3 separate regions of the Homo sapiens genome follow, and regions 2 and 3 are each linked to region 1. Evidence: promoter capture Hi-C in 16 types of primary human blood cells and fetal thymus (Javierre and others, 2016). All regions are on one chromosome and are shown on one strand. The core of a region is centred on a gene start or on the middle of the fragment in contact, and the rest is flanking DNA. Distances in the headings are between cores, read along the strand shown.

Evidence for each region. The method cuts DNA at HindIII sites, captures the fragments that hold promoters and counts their contacts. A CHiCAGO score of 5 or more calls a contact.
Region 2: a fragment that was not itself captured here is called in contact with the fragment with the promoter of DTHD1 in region 1 in 2 of 17 cell types (M1 macrophages and M2 macrophages); the score reaches 5.1 in M1 macrophages.
Region 3: a contact is called between a fragment that was not itself captured here and the fragment with the promoter of DTHD1 in region 1, in 1 of 17 cell types (M0 macrophages). The highest score is 7.5, in M0 macrophages.

The regions. Positions count from the first base shown.
Region 1 is chr4:36,279,568-36,283,079 of GRCh38, reverse strand. It overlaps DTHD1 (death domain containing 1), which reads right to left and starts at 1,464. Exons shown (of 10, transcript NM_001170700.3): 1 at 1,051-1,464. The coding sequence starts at 1,321. The HindIII fragment of the contact is 1,630 bases long and covers 757-2,386 here.
Region 2 is chr4:37,362,881-37,366,306 of GRCh38, reverse strand. The region is part of intron 3 of NWD2 (NACHT and WD repeat domain containing 2); the gene reads right to left. Among named protein-coding and RNA genes, the nearest start is that of PGCKA1, 89 kb to the left of the region's middle. The HindIII fragment of the contact is 1,604 bases long and covers 503-2,106 here.
Region 3 is chr4:37,902,457-37,905,918 of GRCh38, reverse strand. TBC1D1 (TBC1 domain family member 1) reads right to left here. Exons shown (of 22, transcript NM_001396959.1): 2 at 3,407-3,462. Among named protein-coding and RNA genes, the nearest start is that of TBC1D1, 13 kb to the right of the region's middle. The HindIII fragment of the contact is 1,716 bases long and covers 660-2,375 here.

The DNA.
Region 1 (3,512 bases), core at 215-2,714:
ACCAAATCATCCCTTCACCAGTCAGGGCTTTTCTTTGGGATCCAGTTCTGACAACTTGTGTTTTGTTTTGTTTTGTTTTTGTCTTATACCTGAGAACTTGTCTTTATTTTTAACTCCTATTCTGGTAACCAAGTCCTTGTTTTTTTCTGAATATATATTTGCTTGTTATATTGCCAAAGACCATGTTCCACTCCCTCCAGAGGCTAAAGGTCTCATTGTGGGCTGCAGCTGATGGCTTCTCAGTCATGCTGCCTTTAGACAGATTTCCCTGATGCCCACTATTTGCCCTTTAGATTGAATTTCTTAACATCATCTACCCTGGATTTCCTCATAGATGGAACCTGCCCACTTATCTTGATACTGTATTATTTAGAGTTGAATTTCATGATGCCACCTATATGCTTATCTGGAGTAACTGTTGTTATCTAGGATTATATTCATCAGATTCCACATTCTTCCTGCCTTACTGTACTTTTCCACATCCATAACTGGACCTATTCCCAAGAATCCCTCTCCAGCCCCAGTGCATGGGGATCCAATTCCCTATCCCAACCCACTCCAGTCTTCCCAGTAATTTTGCAATCAATAAGGCTAAGCTCAAATGACCCTAGAGATAGAATACTATATTCTGATATAAAAAACAAACTACTAGCTCTGCCTCAGTGGCCTGTATTTTCCTGTCTCTAAGTCTTGGATCCTACTAAAATTACCGACTCTCTCTTTCCTGCTGCATAAATCCAATTCACTCTTTAAGCTTCAGCTTAAATACTACATTTTTCTAGCAAACTTCTCAATTCCCCACCCTACAGATGGGATTTAAACTGCTTCTGAAGTCCAAAAGCACTTCATTCATGTGTTTCTAATGGGACTGGCCCCAATGTCCCTGGCATTATTGTGCATTTGTCTCAACTTATTTCCCCTTTGAAATTGTTAGTCTCTTGTGGACAGAAACTCTATCTTAGCCTATCTGGTATACTCATAGCCCCTCTCAGATCTTGCCCTAATCAATATTTCTTAGAGAAAGAATAAACTAAAAAAAAGAATACTTGCCTTTTCTCGAGACACATTGATTCTCTTTGTCAAGCAGCACATGCAGCTGCTGGCAGGTGGAACGCAGGGTGCCTGAGGTGTGCTCCAGCAGCTGGTGAAGGGCACTGCTGAGTTCCTGACCCAGAAAGACCACAGTGGCCATCCAAGTGGCCCCACCAGCCCCCTCACAAAGGTCATCACCCAAGAGTGCCTGCTTTAGCATCTGGTTTTGTCTCCAAATCTGCTTCAATATTTGGCCCAGTTTACCTGAGCCCATGTATTCCATATCCATTTTATGATCCAAAAGTGGTATTTTCTCTCCTGCCAGCAAAGCCTAAAGGTTTTGCAAATTCAAACTTTGTGATTGTTATTTCTCCTAAACTCTAGGAGATGATCCGAGTCAGCTAGCCCAGCACTTTCTCACAACATAGTGGTTATTCAGTTTGGTGTTGACTAGTGAAAAGTTACTAGGTGACCGAAGAAGGGGCGTTCCTGTACCATGGGTGCTACTGTGTACAGAATACATTAATCACTGGGGTAGAGCTGACTCACATGATCCAACTCTCTGTGTAAGTTTTACAAATTCAATATACTGTGGAAGTACCAAATACTTTTCAAGTTTTGAGGCAACAAAATACAGATTCCAGGTAGGGTAAGAAGTTTATTAATCAAAGGTAAACTGTATGAACAATATTGCTGGCAGGATTCCTGTAAACTTAAAAATATTTATGAATGAAATAATGTGATGTCTGATTTTGCTTCTAAATAATCAGGGAGCATAGGGGTGGGTAGAGGTATAAAATTTGCTGTAAGAATTAATAAATGTTGAAGCTGGATATGTTTACACATGGGGTCTTGACAATTCACTCTAATTAATGTGTATATGTATAGTATTTTTATAACCAAGAGTTTAAAAAGATTCCTCTACTGGAGCAGAGCCTATTGCATTGGTTAGGAAGTTATAATTAGCATCTTCTTATGTGGTAAATCTGCAGAGACTGAGATAAGAACTTGGCCTCTGATAATTTCCCTCTAATTGGATAAAATGCCCCTTCACTGAAAGAAAGTAAACCTGAAGAGTAGCTTTCTCTAAACTAGCAAGGATTCTTTACCATATGTAATTAAAATTCAGATACAACAAGCTCTCCCCACTGCTGCCCATCTGCCTGCCAGCGCATCATATATGGGGCTATGCAATGCAGCACTTGCGGGTATTTGGAGGAAACCAGAACAGTCTGCCTCCCTCTCTCCAATCCCACTGCTCAGAGAGAACACACACCTAAGCCAAAGGAAGAGGGCAGCAAGTACATTCCAGAGAGGCTCATGTTCCCTCGGGTACTGGAACAAAATGAAAGCTTTTCAAGTGGAAGCCGGAGTGCTTCCCTCCCACAGGCAACACATTATCTCATCTTAAGCCCTGGAGTTCTAAGAGCTACACTCAGGGCACCTGGAAGACAAGATGGGAAAAACAAGCCCAGAGAATAAATAATGAAGAATGACTGCCACTGCCCTAAAGACTGTCAAAGACCCTGAAGGAAAGGAGCAGTATTGAGTACTGGTGGCTGCAGAGTGGAGAGGGGCTCCTTCACCACTAAGTGTCTTATTTTTCAGTTAACTTCTGTTCACTGAAAAGGGGACCTTTTTCGCAGTATGAGTTCATATCACTTCATGGATTGGATCATTTAAATCTTCTCAAACTAAAGACTCACTCATTCAATTCTATTTTCTTTTCTTACTCCTTAAATGGATGTGTCATTCTCAATAATAATGTACACATGGCTTTAATTCAATGCTAATTTTGAAAACTTCCTATAGCATTTACTGTGGGACAGGAACTAAGTGCTGGAGGTCAGGCCTTTTTAGGATTTCAAGAGACAGATGCATGAACAGATTATTGAAATAAAGCTTAGTCTGTGTTGAGAGCTAGAGCAGAAGTATAAAGAAAAAGTATCATAAAAGCTTTGAGGAGTTAAAAAAATAATTCTGCTTAGAGGCCTGGAAAATGTTTGAATTAGAAACTAAAGGATAAGCAGGCTATGGAGTAAAAGAAAAAAAATATTCCAGCATAGGAAATAATATGATCAAAGTCACGGAGGCATGAGATTACACAGTAGGATCAAAAATGTAAAAGTATGGCTTTGGAGGAAGGTTCAGTTAACGAGTCAGAGGTGACAAATGAAGAGTTCAGTAATTGTAGATAGTGAGGAGAAGAAATTAGAATTTTGGTTTACAGATAAGACAGAAATTGAATATATTTGAATCAGACTGCAATGTGATGAAATCTGTGCTGTAGAGATGCAGATGTATTAGATGACAGAGATATAAGAGTTAGGAGGCTCGAAGGTCTGTATAAAACAGCAACAGAGCAGATGAGAGAAGGGGATGGCGTGAGAGGGGATTTGAAGTACAGTGGATAGAACTTACTAAACTTACCAAACCATCAGATTATAGGGAGAGGAATAGAAAGTATTGAAAATGCATTC
Region 2 (3,426 bases), core at 55-2,554, 1.1 Mb before region 1:
TTTTAGATTCTGCTTACTTTGAATTAAAATGCCTCAAAGGCAACACCAGTTAGATGTTTGTGCTACATTCTAGTGGACTTTGTCTCCTGTACACCAAGATATTATTGGAGACTTTATTCTGCCTTTCCATCCCAGCTTCCTAACCTCCCATGTTGCTCAATGTTCAGCATTGAGCATTCATGGAGAAAACTCCCAGTGATTTGGGGGTTCCTCTATCTGTAAAGCCAGCTTACCAAGAAATGACTCATTTCCTTCTGGAAATTGAGTGTGTCTAATCACATTTGTCTCCACAGCCCTACTGTCTTTTTAAAAACATGATGTTTACATTTTACCTTTTTAAAAAGTTGTTGCTGGCCTACTTAGAAGTCCTTTGGACTACAGCTATAAAAGTGAACATTTTTCTTTACCAATTAAATTATAAAGAGACTGAGTACTCTCCCGTCCACTTTTTCTCCATAATTCTTTTTATCATAAAAAAATGCTTTCTTACACCAACTAAGCTTAAGCTATAGAAATAGCTTATATGTTAGTAAAAGTTTACTGTGGAAATACTTAATATATTAGCAATAATTATTTCAACGGCCCTCTTGGCTTTCACCAGACAATTAAATACTGTTGAGAAGAAAGCTAATTTTCCATGTTTGTCCATTCTAAAGCTCTTTTGGTGATATCAAGTCACTAATTATTGAAACCTATTTCAGAGCTATGATAACTAGTTGATTTCAACTGGACAAACATTTTTATAAGTAAAGAAATATTTGTTTCTCTGGACTATATGAGCAAAATACCTGGAAAATCTGAGGCTTTAGATTTTTATTTAAATAAAATTTGTAAGAAAGATCTTTTTAAGCTAGACTGTTTAATTTAGATGACTTTCCAGTTCAAATCAATGACTGTTTTCTCATTTTAAAATACATTTTGGTTGGTAGAACTGTACTTATAAAGGTTAGAACTAAATGATACAAACCCCCCTGCACTTTAAAATATGAATGAAAATTAAGTACTTATTTAAATTTTTCATGTGTGTATTTTGTTTTGTATACCTAAAATGATAAAGCAAACATACTGGAATATGGATAAATGTGAAATATTTTCCAAAGCTAAGTGATTTTAAAAATACTGTAATTATTTCAAATGATTTAAGAAATCTCATCATATAGTTTTCTTTTACTAAAAATTATTTAAAGAAACTAAACTGTAAGGAGACATAATTTAACCTGAAGGAGAGTGATGAGAAGGTGAGAAGGAACTGACCTATATGCTATAAGTTTGAGAGTAACTCAGTGATATACAAAAATAGAATGTTAGTCTTTGTCAGTTACAGCTACACACTTTGTCTTGTCTTTACTCTTCTGCCTAGTGAAAAAACAAACTTGCTGAATAACAACAGATTTCACAGTTCAATCCCTTAAGTTGTCATATTTTTGGTTTAAAATATGGCCCCGTTCAAAATGTAGCTCTCTGGGCTTCTTTCTTCTTACTTTGTGCATACTGGGCTTAGGGTCCACTGCCAGGAGCTGCCTGTGGTGGGTATGAGCATGACCCATTCTCTGTTCCCTGCTAGCTGTGCCACTGATGGCAGTGTGTGTGTGTGTGTGTGTGTGTGTGTGTGTGTAAGTGGAGGTAGAAGTCTGCTCTGACATCTGCTTATACTCAAGCAACAATGGTGATATGCCCATTCTTTTGGTCTCTGCTGCTTCTTTACTCAATGCTGACAGATTGTGTTTGTTTATATATGTGTGTAATCTCACAGCCCCGATGAGGATGCTACATGGGTGTTGGTTCACTGAGAGCTCAGGGAGTTGACAAGGCATACTACTGCAGGCAAGATTCCTCTTGCCTGCTGTATGGGAACACCCCTCTAAATGTGAAGTCACAGAAGAACCTCTTACCTGCCTCCATTGGTGGTAATGGTGCTCCTCTCATCGCATGCGTGGTATCAGGCTTGGCTCTTCTAGGGTCACCTGCCAATGCTTCTCCCACAGCAAATTTCCACCTCATCCACACTACGGATTGAGGAACTGTAGTGAGATGCTATGAGCATCCTCCAGGGATGCCACACACATGGTGGAGTGGGGACGGATTCTCCAATACTGTAACTAAGCTTTTCAAACTCTAGTTGCTCAAGACAGCAGAGTGTAAGTTGTCTACTTTTGTTTGTTTGTTTTTGAGACAGAGTCTCGCTCTGTAGCCCAGGCTGGAATGCAGTGGTGTGATCTTGGCTCACTGCAACCTCCGCCTCCTGGATCCTGGTTCAAGCAATTCTCCTGCCTCAGCCTCCCGAGTAGCTGGGATTACAGGCATGCACCACCATTCCCAGCTAATTTTTTTTTTTTTTGTATTTTTAGTAGAAAAGGGGGTTTCACCACGTTGGCCAGGCTGGTCTTGAACTCCTGACCTCATGATCCACCCGCCTTGGCCTCCCAAAGTGCTGGGATTACAGGCCTGAGCCACTGCGCCCGGCCGTCTGCTTTTTTATATATAATTTCAACTTTTATTTTAGATTCAGGGCATACATACGCAGGTTTGTTACCTGGCTGTATTGCATGATGCTGAGGTTTGGGATACGACTGATCCCATCACCCAGGTGCTCAGCATAGTACCCAATAGTTTTCAACCCTTGCCCCCTCCCTCATTCTCTGTGCCACTGATGGCAGCATGTGTGTGTGGCTGAGTAGTCCCCAGTTTCTATTGTTGCCAGCTTTATGTCCATGAGTACCCAATTTTTGGTTCCCACTTGTAAGTGAGAACATGTGGTATTTGGTTTTCTGTTCCTGAGTTAATCCACTTAGGAAAATAGCATCCAGCTTCATCCATGTTGCTACAAAGAACATAATTTCTTGCTTTTCTATGGCTGTGTAGTATTCCATGGTGTTTATGTACCATATTTTCTTTATCCAATCCACTAGACGTGGACACCTAGATTCTTTGCTATTGTGCTGTGATGAACATGTGAGTACATGTGTCTTTTTGGTAGAAAGACTTATTTTCTTTTGGATATATACCCAGTCATGATATTGCTGAGTTGAATGGTAGTTCTCAGTTCTTTCAGAAATCTCCAAACTGCTTTTGACACAGTGGCTGAACTAATTTACATTTCCACCGACAATGTATAATCTTTCCCTTTTCCCTACAGCCTCACCAGCATCTGTTGTTTTTTGAGTTTTCAATAATAGTCATCCCTACTAGTGTGAGATGATATCTCATTGTGGTTTTGATTTGCATTCCTCTGATGATTAGTGTTGATAAGCATTTTTTTCATACGTTTGTGGGACACTTGTATGTCTTCTTTTGAGAAGTGTCTGTTTATATCTTTTGCCCATTTTTAATGGTCTTTTTTGCTTCTTCCATTGTTTAAGTTCCTTACAGATTCTAGATATTAGACATTGGTCAGATGCATAGTTTTTGAACATTTTCTCCCATTCT
Region 3 (3,462 bases), core at 268-2,767, 1.6 Mb before region 1:
ACAAGAGCAGAGTTTCTAATGGAAATTTTAAACGGGTGGGATCAAGATCCTGAAGCATTTCTTCAAAGAATTGTAACAGGTGATGAAACATAGTTTTACCAGCGCAATCCTAAAGATCAAGACAAATTTAAGCAATGGCTACTGAGAGCAGAAGTGGTCCAGTCAAAGCGAAAGTGGACTGGTCAAGGGCAAATGGTTGCAATAGTTTTTTGGGATGCCCAAGGCATTTTGTTTGTTGACTTTCTGGAGGGCCAAAGAATGATAACATCTGTTTATCATGAGAGTGTTTTGAGAAAGTTAGCCAAAGCTTTAGCAGAAAATCGCCTGGGAAAGCTTCACCAGAGTCCTTGTCCACCATGACAATGTTCCTGCTCATTCCTCTCATCAAACAGGAGCAATTTTGCAAGAGTTTCCATGGGAAATCATTAGGCATCCACCTTACAGGCCTAATTTGGCTCCTTCTGACGTCCTTTTGCTTCTCAATTTTAAAAAATCTTTAAAGAGCGCCAATTTTTCTCCAGTTAATAATGTATAAAAGACTGTATAAACATGGTTAAATTCCCAGGACCCTCAGTTCTTTAGAGACCGACTCAATGGCTGTTAACATTGCTTACAAAAGTGTCTTGAACTTGATAAAGTTTATCTTGAGAAATAAAGCTTATGTATATATGTGTTTTTTACTTTTTAATTCAATTTTTCCACAAAATGTTTTGAAGTTTCCTCATATTCTATGGAACATACAATAGAAAACAATCTCATGGCATGCTTATAAAATTGTTCCTTTACATGCCTCTTCTCCCAAGACATTACTCAGTGAATTAATTAGATGCTGGTCAAAGGGTTTCCTCGCAAACTGTAGTTTTGTGTTTATGATGCTGGCAGTAAATGCATATGTCTTCTCTGGCAAATGCAGTTAGTGCTGACCTCATCTGTTTAGAAGAGGCCTTAACCTGGAGAATTATTTCACCCAGCAAATGTTATAAGTAGTCAAGAGAATGCTCCTACAGCAGATAATCCTTCGCTATGAGATACAGTGACATTGGTGTCCCAAGAACAGAAAATCTATCACGCTGTTAGCATCATGGCCAGTGTGATTTACTGTTCTGTTTCCAACAACAAAATCACTGATTGAGGTATATACCTATACTACAAATTATTCTTTTATTAAATGAGCAGAGTAATGACAATTTGTGTTTGCAAAAATGGTATGCAAGCCAAAAATCACTTAAGAACTAATTCATATTTCAACCATGGGTTTTTAGCATATAGAGTAAGTCCAATTCTCTACTTGGGGAAAGACTGGAAGTCCCAATTACAGAATTTGGTTATAAATCTCTTTCTCTTGTCAGGCATCCGAATGACTGGCCAGAAGCCTATTCTCAGATGGCCGTAAAAGATTTTGGGAAAGAGTCAAATGTGTAAAATGCTGAACAACGATTCCACGCACAAACTCTCCCCAAGGAAATTCAGTCCAAATACTATATAGAGCTGGACTGAGGTACAGGCTGTTCAGTCCTCTCATTTTCATTCTGGAATTTGTCCAAATAATAGGAGCCATTAAGTTATACGTGTAGTTTTTAAAATGTTCCTCAAATATGACCAGAATCTCATCTTTGAAAGCTGAAGGCACTCATCTAGGTATCATGTTTCTTTTTACCTAAGACGTGAAATGAAATTAGCATATAATCTGCCTCTAGTAAAATTTTCTTGAATGAAAATGTTTTTATGGCTATAAATGCTTACTAAGTTTCAGGTCGAGTGCTACCTCATTTAGTCTTTCCAGCAACTCTATTGGATAAATACTGTAATTATCCCCATTTAACAGATAAGAAAACAGACTCAATTGCCTGAGGCCACCCAGTTTATGGGTGCAGAAGTAGGATTAGAGTACAGGAAGTTAGTCCCTCTGAATCTCCAAGCCTGATGCTGCCGTGCCCACTTGAGATGTGTGGACAATAACATGAAATGATTTATAATATGAGAGTTTGATTCTGTGAGTGAAATGGTGGTTTTGAGCTCCATATTAGCCTTTATTTCACAAAGCCTTCTCTACCCTTTGGGTGTGTGTTAGGCTCCCTTCTCAGTCCTTCCATTATGTCCTATACATAGATCACCTGGTCCTATTCCCCACTGATGCTCCTGCCTTCCTACAAGCCTCTGCTAATATCATCTCCAACAGTACCTGCAACAGCAATTCTGAATGACTAGAAGAACCAACAAATGAACAAGCAAAAGGGCATCTACTTGATACCAAGAATATTAATTTCTAAATAAGGTCCTTACACCCTAGAGAGTACATAAAATAACCTAATGGAGTGCAGAGAGAAAACTTTAGCATTTCTATCCAGATTTTAACCTTGAAAATATGAGAAGCTTTCAAGGCTTCACTGACAGTTAACAGGTGGATTGACACTCGCATCCTCGCCCTGTACATGTGGCAGACAGCTTGAATCACATGTGACTTGGCTTGCTTGGCACCCAAAACAACGGCAAGACTCCACAGTCCATGGGGTTAGCTGTGGAGCCCTGAGCCCAACTGAGAAAGTTGCTATTTGCATTATATTTTCAATTTTATCTAAGCTAATCCTCATAAAATGGGCAAGCATCTTCAAATGAGTCCTGCCCAGAGCTACAACGAATGCTAATAACAAAGCAAGCACAAATGAACGAGGAAAGAGCAGAACTTTTACCATGTCTCACATTTTTTTTCAGCCATATCATGTGATAATAACAAGCTAATCAGATCTGACCTGAGGTTTGCGAAAGAAAAAAACACAAAGAACCCCTGATCGCATCAAAACTTAGATGCATATCCAGCGTTCTTATCAATGACCTTTGCCTAAGTGAACATTATGCCTTGGGAAACTGGCCAGTAGCATTTTTACACAGTTTACGAATGACTATATTTTTCTTAATAGGATTACAAATGTGGAGATTTAGAACTTTGCCACTCAAAGTGCAACCTGCAAAAGGGCAGCATCAGCATTTCTTGGCAGCTTGTTACAAATGCAGTCTTGGGGTCCACCCCAGACCTACTGAATCAAGATTCACATTTTAACAAGATCCCCAGGTGACTCACAAGCTCATTTCAGTTTGAGAGGCATGGCTTTAGAACATTCATCTGAAATAATGTACATCTTAACACTTCTGCTCTTAATTAGTAGTTTTAGACTGATTTCTCTTGAATTTTTGAACTCAAAAACTGATAATTTCTCGTATCTGTTTTCAAATGTGCTTTAAAACTATAAACTATCACCATAAAACAAAAATTCAGCTAAGTAATCAATTTATAACTGCAGCATTAATTCCTTATTCATTTCAGTATACTTAAAATAAATATCCTGACCCCCATACAATAAAAACCAGCCAGCCACACCTTAGTCTTTTGGATCTCCATCTCACTTACTTTTGTTTGATCATCGGCTTTGAACACATAGCAGATACTCTGCCGGTGGACAGCGT